Linked DNA regions of Homo sapiens: region 2 is linked to region 1. Evidence: promoter capture Hi-C in 16 types of primary human blood cells and fetal thymus (Javierre and others, 2016). All regions are on one chromosome and are shown on one strand. The core of a region is centred on a gene start or on the middle of the fragment in contact, and the rest is flanking DNA. Distances in the headings are between cores, read along the strand shown. Region 1 holds the start of EI24 (EI24 autophagy associated transmembrane protein). Region 2 holds the start of SNX19 (sorting nexin 19).

Region 1 (7,135 bases), core at 1,195-3,694:
ACCAAAACCTCCAAATAGGTCTTTTTTATTTTATTTTATTTTTTGAGACAGAGTCTCGCTCTTGTTGCCCAGGCTGGAGTGCAACACTGGGCTCGGCTCACTGCAACCTCCACCTCCCAGGTTCAAGTGATTCTCTTGCCTCAGCCTCCCGAGTAGCTGAGATTACAGGAACCCGCCACCACGCCCAGCTAATTTTGTGTATTTTTAGTAGAGATGGGGTTTCGCCATGTTGGCCAGGCTGATCTCAAACTCCTGATCTCAGGTGATCCATCCATCTCAGCCTCCCAAAGTGCTAGGATTACAGGCATGAGCCACCACGCCCGGCTGGTCTTTTCTGTTTTCTAACTTTAAATATATACAGATACAATTTTAATAAACATGCAATAAATAGTGGATTTTAAACTAGGCCTCAAAAAAGTTCATATGTATAAACAGTCTTTAAAACAGTAAGGCTTTCCCATTTTATTTCTCAGGTGAATGGGATATCTAGTTTCAAAAATTAAGAACTTGAGAGTTCATGTGAGAAATACTTGTAATTAATATACTATTCTCTCATTTAATCTGTGGTGACTTCTAAGATGAATAGAAAACCCACTTTCAGGCATTTTTTAAGAACCTGATATTCTAAAGTTCTCAACACTCACTCAATCAAGTTGCAGTATTCTCAGTTTAAGAGGTATGACCATAATACAAAGACAGAATTTCACAAGCAGCTTGTACAAACCTTAAATTTCAAAATATAAGCACACTTTCCCCGACCTTTAACCACTTCACCAAACTGCTCCTCATTGACCCAACTGGACTAATGCCATTCAGAACTGGAAGAGCAGGGGATATGGCAGTAGGAAGGCAATTTGCCCAACATTGTATATACCCTCTGCTCCTTAGGTCAAATCCTACACAGATAGGCTCACTTCGGATAGAAGTCTCTAGGGTAAGAAACTTCTGTTAATACTCCCACTGTTTCCTCCTGAAAACAAACACCTCAGAGTTCCAGTCGCGTAGGTACAGCCATACAGACATGTTCTCAGGGTTGAGGTGAGGGCAGCTGAGCTAGATAACTAGCAAAGGCTCAGTGATATGCACGACACTAGTTTGTAAAGACTCACAGATCCACTCCCGTAACCTGCCACTGGCTCATCTATAAATTAAGGGTACTAAACTTCTTCATAGGTTTCTTGCATCTAATAGGGCACAACAGCATGAAAAAAACTTAAAATTCTATATAAACACAACCCCACCAAAGTGAGCCAGCTTGGAGGTTTAAGGAAGCCCATTACTTGGCCTGGATTTCTCACAGGGAACTGACAGGGAACCTGAAACATTCTGTCTCAGTCCACAACAGCTGTGTCATTTGATCCCTGGCCAGCTAACACCTGGTTTCTGCATGTACCAAGTGGCAGGACACCTCCTAAGAGTGACCTATGAAGGATAAATCACTTCACTTTTATACTTAGATCCTAACATCCTTCCTACAGGAATATTTGGTGAATTACCCAGTCTGACAAATAGCTGAGGCATGGGGAAAAATAACCTGCCACAATTTGAGAACACACACACAGACTGAATGACACAGGGGGAATCCTACAGCTGAGCTAGACAGATGAAGATGCATCTGGCTCATTTAACAGGTGAGAGAACCCAGTCTCAGAAGTTAAATGACTTGCCCAGACTGACAGCAAATGAATGGCAGCTACAGTGAACCTCAGAACCCGGTGTTCTAACGTTACCTCGGTCGAGACTTGTTTTTACTTAAGCTTTGCAATGAAGATTTTTGTTTTAACACGAGCATCCCATGGACAAATAACCTCTCAAACCTGGAAATACAAATGCCATTAAATTCCCAACAGTCATTAGAAGCTAATAAGCATCTGCTGAGACACACTTTTATTTCTAAGTCACTAAACCCAAGTCTCGGCAAACAGGAAGCTGTCGTAGCCCACTCCAGGTACAGGGAAGGTAAACATCCTCACTTCCCACGGGGCTCCACGGGCTGCCTCTGAGTCCACGGGTCCATTCAGGCCCATCTCCCCACAGCTCCTAGGCAATTCGGCAGAAAACTGGTCTCCCTAGGCACAACTGTGCACGAGGTACGGATCACGCGAGGTGCGGATCACGCACGCTCCGGGTCACACAGGGAGCTAAAGATAGCTGCGCCGCACCTGGGGCAGCCTCGCCCGGGGATGTGCCCGGCCCCGTCCCGCTCCCTCCGGCCCCTTCCCATAAGGGGTCCTCGCCGGTAGCCCCACCAACCCACGCTCGGGCCCTGCCTGCCCTCCCGGTCCCTGCCACTCAGAATGGGCGGCGCGGCGGCCCCGAGGCCTAGCTCGGCTGAGCCCGCACCTACCCACAGCTCCGCCGCCGCGGCTCCGGCCCTGCCCCTAGCCCACCGCAGGCCAGCTCCGCCGGGGCGCTTCCAGGGCCGGGGCCGCTGCGCCCGCACTGGGCATGCCCGGGCCGCACGGGGCCGCTGGGAAGTCGGGCGAGCGCGAAGAACCAGCCGGCACCACGAGGCGGGGCCCAGAGCCGAAGGGGTGGGCCGCGCGGAGCGACGGAGACTGGGAAATGTAGTCAGTCCGGGGTCCCGCCTCGCGCTGCGTGCGGGATCGTCCGGCTCCCAACTCCGCCTGGCGGCGGAGAGGACCCCTCACCCCTCCGCGTCGCCTCCTCCCCGTCGCCTCCTCGCCGATCCCGTTCTCACAGATCTCTCCTCCTGTTCTTTGCCCTCCCCCATTGACTCCACAACGCTGCTTGCGTTTCTAAAATCCTGTGAAATTAGTAACAGGATGCCTTTAATCCCAGCATTTTGGGAGGCCAAGGCAGGCAGATCACGAGGTCAGGAGTTCAAGACCAGCCTGGCCAACATAGCGAAACCCCATCTCTACTAAAATAACAAAAATTAGCCAGGTGTGGTGGTACCTGCCTGTGGTCCCAGCTACTCAGGAGGCTGAGGCAGGAGAATTACTTGAACTCAGGGGATGAAGGTTGCAGTGAGCCGAGATCACACCACTGCACTCCTGCCTGGGCGACTGAGCAAGACTCAGTCTCAAAATAATAATAATAATAATAAATTTAAAAAATGAAATAAAATAAGTGGCTGGGCACGGTGGCTCATGCGTGTAACCTCAGCACTTTGGGAAGCTGAGGCGGGCAGATCACTTGAGGCCACCCTGGCCAAGATGGTGAAATCCCGTCTCTACTAAAAATACAAAAAATTAGCTGGGCATGGTGGCACACACCTGTGGTCCCAGCTACTTGGTCGGCTAAGGAATGAGAATCACTTCAATTCAGGAGGCAGAGGTTGCGGTGAGCCGAGATCGCACTACTGCACTTCAGCCTGGGTGACACAGCTAGACTGTCTCGAAAAATAAAATAAAATAAAACAAAACAAAACAATATAAAATAGAATAGAATAAGGAATCCATCTACTAAAGCTTAGAAATCTTGTTACAAAGAGACCTAAGTGGTTTAATGACAAACTGATTATTGTGCTATTAATTATAATAATAGCTCTTCCTCCAAGCTCTATTCTTTCTCAAGAGTGTCAATTTAGAAAAGATTTTAGAAAGAATTTAGTAGGTATGAGTTTATTCTGGCTTACTTCATGGGAGGAAATCTTTTTTTTTTTTTTTTTTTGAGACTGAGTCTGTCTTTGTCTCCCAGGCTGGAGTGCAGTGGTGCGATCTCGGCTCACTGCAAGCTCCGCCCCCTGGGTTCACGCCATTCTCCTGCCTCAGCCTCCTGAGTAGCTGGGACTACAGGCACCTGCCACCAAGCATGGCTAATTTTTTTGTATTTTTAGTAGAGACGGGGTTTCACCGTGTTAGCCAGGATGGTCTCGATCTCCTGACCTCGTGGTCCGCCCACCTACAGCCTCCCAAAGTGCTGGGATTACAGGCGTGAGCCACTGCGCCTGGCCGGGAGGAAATCTTTTAAATCTCAACATGTATAACCACATTTAAAATAAAAACCAATAATAATTAATACCTTGCATTTTTAAAGAGCTCTCACATGCTTATGTATGATTAGATGCTATTTGTGGACAAGTAGAGGATATTATTTTCCAAATTTCACAAATGAGGAAGTTTGTGGCAGAGCACTTTGAGAAGACATGACCTCCAGTTAAGCTGTGAACCTTAGTTTCTTTTTTTTTTTTTTTTTTTTTTTGAGACAGTGTCTCTCTATCTTGGCTCACTGCAAGCTCCACCTCCCGGGTTCACACCATTCTCCTGTCTCAGCCTCCCAAGTAGCTGGGACTACAGGTGCCCGCCACCACGCCCGGCTAATTTTTTGTATTTTTAGTAGAGACGGGGTTTCACCATGTTAGCCAGGATGGTCTCGATCTTCTGACCTCGTGATCCACCCGCCTTGGCCTCCCAAAGTGCTGGGATTACAGGTGTGAGCCAGCACGCCTGGCCCAAACCTTAGTTTCTTTAACACAGGCTGCTGAAATAAATGGTATATATATGAAGGTGTTTTTTAACTGTATGGATATATGATTTAGTGAAATGATAACAATACTAGATCTAGTGATAGCGACAGGAGACAGCCAAATGCCTAGGCAGTTAGTGGCGGGTCCCCATTGAAACCCCACCTCCAAGCCAAAAACAGTTTAAAGCTCGAAAGCCAAGCTACAAGTTAAGTCCTCAGACCAGATTGAGAACTTGTCTTCCTGTCTTGCATGTTTTCCTCTGATTGATCCCCACCCTTCACCTATTTTACATATACCTACCCTTTCCTGATTGGTTTTCTACACTGTTGTGCCCACCTTTGAGTGGTGCCTTTGCTTTAACCTTTCTTGCATAGCCACAAACCAATCTGCACATACTCCCCATCCTGTGCCTATAAGGACCCCTGACTTAGTCAGTAGAGTGGGAGACCGCCTGACTTTGAGGAAGACGACCTGCCCTTCCTGTCCCTTCTCCAGCTCCCCTCACTGCTGAGACTCGTTTTCATCACTAAAAAAAATTCTCTGCCCTCAACATCCTTCTTTGTTTTTTTCTTTGTTTTTTTTTTTGAGACAGAGTCTTGCTCTGTCACCCAGGCTGGAGTGCAATGGTGCAATCTCAGCTCACTGCAACCTATGCCTCCTGGGTTCAAGCAATTCTCCTGCCTCAGCCTCCTAAGTAGCTGGGATTATAGGCACCTGCCACCACGCCCAGCTAAGTTTTTGTATTTTTAGTAGAGATGGGGTTTCACCATGTTGGCCAGGCTGATCTCAAACTCCTGACCTCAGGTGATCCACCCACCTCAGGCTCTCAAAGTGTTGAGATTACTGGCGTGAGCCACCGCACCTGGCCCGCCATCCTTCAATCCTGCATGTGACCTCATTCTTCTTGGACACTGGACAAGAGCTTGGGACCCACCAAGTACAGGTACCCAGAAAGGCTGTCACACTGGTCCTTTGCCCCCACCAGTGGAAGGCAGCTGCCCCACGTGACAAGGCAAAGGGCCAACTGAGCTACTAACACACTGCTGTTTGTGGATGATGAAACTAAAGGAGCACTGTAACACCCGCTCTGAGGCTTCAGGGTCATGGGCACTTTCACCTGGGCACTGCAGTGTTCCTCTTGAGGCAACATGCCTGGTCTGGCCACAGGCCCCACACAGAGCTTGCTCCTGTGCCAGTGCCCAGAGTGGCTGGCTGGATCTTGAACTTGCTTGCTCATGTGCTCCCTCCTGCAAGTGGTTGATTGTGGTGGGCCTGGTAGACAAGGCGCCCCCTTCCATGAGTTTGTCAAAGGGGCCAAGAAAAATCCTGCATCATTAGGGGCCAGATCTCCTAGCTTCCAGCCTTGGAATCTTCTAGGAGAGAGAGATACTATGATTTATTAAGCATCTACTATACCAAGCCTTTTATATTTATTATTTCAACAACAATTTAAGTGTTGTAATGAAAAATTATCACTATTTTTTTTTGTTTTTGAGATAGAGTCTCACTCTGACACTCAGGCTGGAGTACAGTGGCATGATCATGGCTCACTGAAGCCTTGACCTCCTGGGCCTAAGCAATCCTCTTGCCTCAGCCTCCTGAGTAGCTGTTGTAGCTGATTTAAAAAAAAATTCCATGCCTTCCTATTAAGAAAAAAAAACTCCAACCAGGTTTGTCTAACGCCCGATTCCACACCCTTTCCTCTACCATATTTGTGTTCCATTATGGATCACAAAAGTCTTCTCATTTAAATTTAGGTTGTGTATTGTCATTATTAAAGTAGTGCTCCTCTTTGTTTTGCCTGTGGTTGCTAAAAGAAAAAAAGAGAGAGAGAAAGAAAATAATGAAAGTGTTGGCCAGTATGGTGGCTCATGCCTGTAATCCCAGTACTTTGGGAGGCAGAGGCGGGTGGATCACCTGAGGTCAGAAGTTTGAGACCAGCCTGAACAACATGGTGAAACCCTGTCTCTTCTAAAAATACAAAAATTAGCCTGGTGTGGTTGTGCACACCTGTAGTCCCAGCTACTCAGGAGGCTGATGCAGGAGAATCACTTGAACCTGGGAGGTGGAGGTTGCAGTGAGCTGAGATTGTGCCACTGCACTCCAGCCTGGGCACTAGAGCGAGACTCTGTCTCAAAAAAAAAAAAAACAAAAAAAAACTGCCATTCCTCATGGGTCTTACAGATGCAACTCCCTGCTGGGAACTCAAGCCCTTTTTTTTGCCAGGAAAGGTAAAATCATCTGGGGGTAGAACCAAAAAATGTACAGGTTAATAGAATTATGAAATTTAAGATGTTTAAACAGGGTTTATGTAACGTAGTTGTAATCTCTTTGCCTAAATGTCTTATGAAAATGGGTATTGTATCTAGCTGGAGGATGCTTCCCCTATCTAGTACTATAAAACCAAAGACATGTAAAGCTGCTCTTTTGAAAAGTGTTAGTTGGACATGTTAATGGGAAATAGTAAAATCACCTGAGCCCACAAAGTATCAGGTAGAAGCTAGAGTACTAGTTGGGACAAATCATCCCCTTCATAGCCCTTTGTGGAGTGTTTATTGGGGATAATGGCAAAAAACAAAACAAAACAAAAAACTCTTATAAGTACTTCCCAATGACAACTACCGGACTAGAGAATTTCCACTTGAGGTGCATTTACTGCCTTGCTATGAAATGTTAACTGAAGCTACCCCTATGCTAACTGAA
Region 2 (6,662 bases), core at 2,486-4,985, 5.3 Mb before region 1:
CCACTTTTTGAATCAATTTTGGAGTGTTAAGATTTGACTGCCCCACTGGATTTCGGACTTTCATGGGGCCTGCAGCCCCTTTGTTTTGGCCATTTATCCCATTTGAAATGGCTGTATTTACCCAATACCTGTACCCCCATAGTATCTAGGAAGTAACTAACTTGCTTTCGATTTTGGAAGCTCATGGGCAGAAGGGACTTGCCTTGTCTTGGATGAGACTTTGGACTGTGGAATTCTGAGATAATGCTGAAATGAGTTAAGACTTTGAGGGACTGTTGGGAAGGAATGATTGGTTTTGAAATGTGAGGATATGAAATTTGGGAGGGGCCAGGGGTGGAATGATATGGTTTGGTTCTGTGTCTCCACCCAAATCTCATCGTGAATTGTAACTCCCACAATTCCAATGTGTCATGGGAGGAACCCGGTAGGGGATAATTCAATCATGGGGGCAAGTCTTTCCCATTGTTCTCATGATAGTGAAGAAGTCTCATGAGACTGATGGTTTTATAAAGAAGAGTTCTCCCACACAAGTTCATTTCTCTTTTTGCCTGCTGCCATTCACGGAAGATGTGACTTGCTCCTCCTTGCCTTCTGCCATAATTGTGAGTCTTCTCCAGCCATGTGGAACTGCAAGTCCAATTAAGCCTCTTTCTTTTGTAAATTGCCCAGGCTCCGGTGTGTCTTTATCAGCAGCATGAAAATGGACTAATACAATACTAAACACCTCCAGAGAAAATAACTCAACCATATGTATTGGTGCCACTACAAAAAGGTCCCTCAGCCCCACCTTCTCTCTTTTTTTTTTTTTTTAGACGGAGTCTCGCACTGTTGCCCGGGCTACTGGAGTGCAATGGCACAATCTCGGATCACTGCAATCTCCACCTCCTGGATTCACGCGATTCTCCTGCCTCAGCCCTCCGAGTAGCTGGGATTACAGGAGCACACCATCACACCTGGCTAATTTTTTTGTATTTTTAGTAAAGACGGGGTTTCACTATGTTAGCCATACTGGTCTTGAACTCCTGATCTCGTGATCTGCCTGCCTCAGCTTCCCAAAGTGCTAGGATTACAGGCATGAGCCACTGCGCCCAGCCCCCACTTCATCTTTTTACCTGACCTTCGATAGCTCCCTTTCTATATCCCACAGCAATAATTCCATACCATCGCCTCTTCTCACTCACTTGCCCCATCACTGAGCTTCTCTTTAGGAAGCCTCCTGGTCTTCTATTTTGAGAGAAAATTCAAGTGGGGTGCGGGCTGGCTCTGGCAGGGCCTATGTCACGGGCCCCCCTGCTCTCATGGTCTCTGCCTGTTTCTTATGAGCAGGCCTCTGCCTGAAAGACCTTCCTTCTGTTTGCCCCTTGCTCTCGCTACCCAACATTTCCTAAAATACACTCAATTCTTTTTCATTTCCCAACTTAAGGGAAAACTGTCTATGAGCCACCCCCCTCCACAGCTGACCACCCGCTTTGTGTTTCGATTTTATTGTATGCACTTCTATTACAACACATCAGAACACATCACATTACACACGTGATCATGTTTCATTACGTTTATATATTTATGTGTCTCTCCTTTAACTAGACTGAGAGTCCCTTGAGGAGAATTATTGTATCTTATTTGTCTTGTTTTCTCCAACACTCTAGCACTATGCCTTTAATGTTTTGAGAAATAGGGAAAAGGAAAGAAGGAAGGACGTCTCCAGATGGTGAGTGGTGTGGCCAAGTCTCCCCACCCCACATACACACACCAGGGCACATCAGTCCTGACTCTCACCTCCTCCCAGTGATTAATCTGTTTGGAGACCAGGGTCTGCCCAGACCCCCAGGCAGGAGCTCACACCCGTCCAAATGACAAGTGCACGGGCATGTCCATCAAACCCGCTTCAGAATCAGGAAGGCACTCTTGGCTACCTTGATGCTCCAGACCATCTGGTCAGGTGGCATAGCGCCCACTTGCAAGGTCACTTCCTTACTGCCCTGAACACTCCAGATTATGCTGCCAAGTAAACTTTCTCTTTGAACTGCCACAGGAAGTCTTCAGCACCGTCGGTAGTCCCTTCATCATTCACATTTCTGTTTTAGCTCCCAACTAGGTGGCAGGGACTTTTCTCCAGAGCATTGTTGCCATTTTCTAAGTGCTCCTGAGGACATTAGAATGGTCTGGGAAGGTAGAGGGGCAGAGCCCACTTCTCGGGTTCCTTTTCTGCGGGAAGGCAGGCAGCAGTGAAAAGGTATGGACCGTGAAACCGTGGATTCACATTCTGCCATCTCACGGGAGTGCCCAGTCTGCTTAGTGGACACTGATCCTAAATCAAACCATTTGCTTTAGAAGTGATGAATCGTAAACTACGGGTCACATCTAAATGATGGCTTCTTTCGTATTCAAAGGAAGTCTCTGCCCCAACAGCAGCAATGGACGAGACAGGAAGCTGCAACGCACTTCTTGTTGGCAGAGTTTTGGGTTGGGATTTGTTTGAAGATTCCTTTAAACATCTAGGGAGTAGTCCATGATGATGAAAGACTGCTCACAGCACAGAGAAGGTGGACGAAGGGCAACCATGAGCAGCTCTGTGCAAACGATGCGAATCCTATGCCTAAATGGAAAGGAGACCCACCCTGCGGGCACAGCTCCTAGGGCCCAAGGTGGACATGGAAGCTGGCTTCACGCAAAACTGACACTAACACTTTTGACACCTGGTCAGTGCTTCCGGTATTTTGTCTTCCTATAGGTTCCTGTGTAGACAAGTGAAGTCTAATTTGCTAAAACCAAAAACAATCCAACATAGAGCATATTCCAAAGCAAATATATTACAGGATTATCTGAAAGGACACCTCTATCTCTGCTTTCCTTTTCTATGTTTTTGGGGAGGATAAGGCGAGAAGAGATAGAGGGAAATAGAAACCCTCATCCTTGAAGACTCAGCAGAAAGGCACCTTTTCTGTGAGCTTCTCCTTAACCATTGCAACCCACAGTGATCTCTCCTTCCCCTGAATTCCTATAAGATTTTGTATTTTACTATATCGCACGCTGACTGGCATTACTAGATAGCCAATCGCGTTCAAAGCGCTGGCATCCCCAGTTAGCAGGAGGTCCTGGAGGACAAGGTCTGCTTCTATTCGTCCACGCTGCCTCTCACATTGAAGACAGCAGATGCTCAAAATATTTGATTGTTTGTGTAATGCCACCAGCAAATAACCCTCAATCACAAATTTGATTTTGTGATACAGTATATGAAATGTACAACATAAATCTATCTCTGTATCGTTTCATGCCTTATATTCTGCAATTCCTGACAACAAATGAGGGTCTTTGTGCTGGGGACGCGGGGTACCGGCTCTAGGGGAAACCGGATAAATGTTAAGACACATCAGGCCAATGAAACTTCGCCTCCATGAAATTAAAATAAACCGGATTATTGACAGCGTGCCTAAGCAGTAAAGGACAGGCTTCATTTAATAACCAGAACTAGGACGCGTTTTAAAGCGCCTGGAAGTCTGGGTCTTAGCGGTGATTGCTGCGGCGGCTGTTTCGTGGCACTTCGGAAATCTGCGCCAGCTCTTGGCGAGCACGCGCCCCGTGCGCGCTCAGGCTCACGCTCAGGCTCAGAGACTACCTCGCGCAGGGCCGTCAGGGCGGCTCCTCGCCAGCAGAGGGCGCCGGGCAGCGCCGCTCCTCGGGGCGCGCGCGGACGCTCTCCCAGCATGCCTCGCTCCCGTCGACGTCGACCCGGAAGCTGTCGCCGGCGGCCGGCCGGCGGTCAGCCTTCACACAGGCCCGGCTGCGGAGCGCAGTCGCCCAGGTTTACGGCGGCAGAGGGCCGAGGCTCCCGGAGAGGACCGCGATGAGTCCACTTCAGGTCGGGGCTGAGTGTGGGCGCGCGGTTCCCGGCGGCGTGTGACCCAGTCTTCGCCGGCCGCTGCCCGCTGCGTGTGTAAGTGTCCGTGGGCCCCAGGGCCTTGCAGCGCCCGCCCCGAGGCCCCGAAGAGGCCTTCCGCCTGGGGCAGTGTGAAGGCCACAGAGTTTTCCTCCAAAGCCACACCTCAGCTGGAAGGGGCGAGTTGGAGGGCTCTGTTAGTGGTAGCCATGGGGAGACGCGGAGCTGCAGCTGTCGCTTTGCAGTGCCTGTAGGACTTTGAGGGCCTGGAGCCCCGGTTCCCTGAACAGCACCCAGATCGCCCCATATCTGAGACACAGTTCATGCCCCCCTTCCCTAACTCTGAAGTAAAATCTTGAGGGCTGTCATCTGGGGAAGCCACCTTGTCCGTTCAGCCATGAAGACAGAAACAGTGCCACCGTTCCAGGAAACTCCAGCTGGATCGAGCTGTCACCTCAATAACCTGTTGAGTAGCCGGAAGCTGATGGCTGTGGGGGTCTTGCTTGGCTGGCTCCTGGTCATACACCTTCTGGTCAACGTGTGGCTGCTGTGCCTTCTGTCGGCATTGCTAGTGGTGCTGGGAGGATGGCTGGGCTCCAGCCTCGCTGGAGTGGCTTCAGGTCGACTGCATCTGGAACGCTTCATCCCGTTGGCCACCTGTCCTCCATGCCCTGAGGCAGAAAGGCAGCTGGAACGGGAGATCAACCGCACCATCCAGATGATTATTCGAGATTTTGTGTTATCTTGGTACCGTTCCGTGAGCCAGGAGCCAGCCTTTGAGGAAGAAATGGAGGCAGCCATGAAAGGGTTGGTCCAGGAGCTTCGGAGAAGGATGAGCGTGATGGACAGTCATGCTGTTGCCCAGAGTGTTCTGACTCTCTGCGGTTGTCACCTGCAGAGCTACATTCAGGCAAAGGAGGCCACTGCAGGGAAGAATGGTCCAGTTGAGCCTTCCCACCTCTGGGAGGCTTACTGCCGGGCGACTGCCCCACATCCTGCTGTGCACAGCCCCAGTGCTGAAGTCACCTATACGCGTGGCGTTGTGAATTTGTTGCTTCAAGGGCTGGTGCCCAAGCCCCACTTGGAGACTCGTACCGGACGCCATGTAGTGGTCGAACTCATCACATGCAATGTAATCTTACCACTGATCAGCAGGCTGTCAGATCCTGACTGGATCCACCTTGTACTCGTGGGTATCTTTTCCAAGGCCAGAGATCCAGCACCCTGCCCAGCCAGTGCCCCCGAACAGCCCTCAGTGCCGACATCTCTGCCACTGATTGCTGAGGTAGAGCAGCTTCCAGAAGGGAGAGCTTCTCCAGTAGCAGCCCCAGTATTCCTAAGTTACAGTGAGCCAGAGGGTTCTGCAGGCCCCTCTCCAGAGGTTGAAGAAGGCCACGAAGCTGTAGAGGGAGATTTGGGTGGGATGTGTGAAGAAAGAAAAGTAGGAAACAACTCATCTCATTTCCTACAGCCAAATGTTCGAGGTCCCCTGTTCTTATGTGAAGACTCAGAGCTGGAGTCTCCGCTGTCTGAACTGGGCAAAGAAACCATCATGCTCATGACTCCAGGCAGCTTTCTCTCTGACAGGATTCAGGATGCCCTGTGTGCCCTAGAGAGTTCCCAGGCTCTGGAACCCAAAGATGGTGAGGCATCTGAAGGAGCAGAGGCTGAGGAGGGTCCAGGGACAGAAACAGAGACAGGCCTGCCGGTCTCCACACTGAATTCCTGCCCAGAGATCCATATTGACACAGCAGACAAGGAGATAGAACAAGGAGATGTTACCGCCTCTGTTACAGCTTTGCTGGAGGGGCCAGAAAAGACCTGCCCCTCACGGCCGTCATGCTTAGAGAAGGATCTCACCAATGATGTGAGCTCCCTTGATCCTACTCTGCCACCAGTTCTGCTTTCCTCCTCTCCACCTGGTCCTCTCAGCTCAGCCACCTTCAGCTTTGAGCCCCTAAGCAGTCCCGATGGTCCAGTTATCATCCAGAACCTTCGTATCACTGGCACCATTACAGCCCGAGAGCACAGTGGCACTGGATTCCACCCATACACACTCTATACTGTGAAGGTAACAGGATTAAAGCTGTGGGTGCTCACCCGGGCTAGGAGTGGGTTTGGAAAGCAGTCATGAAGCAAATGTTCTTGGGGGAGAGATGCTGTTAGTTTGAAGTGGTTCTTTCAATAGGCATCTATCTCTGTGAATGGTCTGAAGCTAATATGTAAGGCAGAGTAGCGTTTATCCTGTACTCACACAAGCAATCCTGGAACCTCAGGGCTGCTAGAATGCTGAGGGTTATATTTTCAGTGGTTCCCAAACTTGGCTGCACCTCAAAATCACTTGAGCTGCCTTTCAGATATACAGATTCTGACAGACTCTGTTGGATTCTGTATGAGAATTTCTAAGGAGGGGGTCCCTGGATTCTGTATTTTATTTATTTTCAAATAGAACTCTCCAGATAACATAGAGTCAGCCTGTCCTAAGGCCATCTTGGGGAATTGCCTCTCTAATCCAACCAACCCTCTTCATGTTATCTCTTGTCAAGTTGTTCCCAAGTCTGCTTACACACCTCCAAGAGTCAAAAACTTGCTATCTTCTGAGATAGACATAGGTAAATAACCTACCTTCCTAAAACAAAGTACAAAATGTACCAGTATTTTGAAAAAGAAATCAGCAGGGAAGAAGTTGAGAAAGAAAATTCTTGGACAAGATCCTACCCATTGGATTTTACTTGCCTTCCACACTTGAATTTCTCTCATTTGAGTCCACAAGCTACCACCAGGG

What was found. Contacts are between HindIII fragments. The CHiCAGO score rates a contact against its expected background, and 5 or more counts as called.
Region 2: the fragment with the promoter of SNX19 here is called in contact with the fragment with the promoter of EI24 in region 1 in 1 of 17 cell types (total CD4 T cells); the score reaches 5.3 in total CD4 T cells.

What each region holds. Positions count from the first base shown.
Region 1 is chr11:125,564,786-125,571,920 of GRCh38, reverse strand. It overlaps EI24 (EI24 autophagy associated transmembrane protein), which reads right to left and starts at 2,444. Exons shown (of 11, transcript NM_004879.5): 1 at 2,348-2,444. It overlaps STT3A-AS1 (STT3A antisense RNA 1), which reads left to right. Exons shown (of 4, transcript NR_132372.1): 3 at 1,479-1,631; 4 at 3,803-3,813. RefSeq lists enhancers at 1,727-1,776, 2,279-2,780 and a silencer at 2,217-2,776. The HindIII fragment of the contact is 1,677 bases long and covers 1,760-3,436 here.
Region 2 is chr11:130,913,552-130,920,213 of GRCh38, reverse strand. SNX19 (sorting nexin 19) reads left to right here and starts at 3,735. Exons shown (of 11, transcript NM_014758.3): 1 at 3,735-5,948. The coding sequence starts at 4,275. RefSeq lists a silencer at 3,543-3,822 and an enhancer at 3,943-3,992. The HindIII fragment of the contact is 12,734 bases long and covers 1-6,662 here.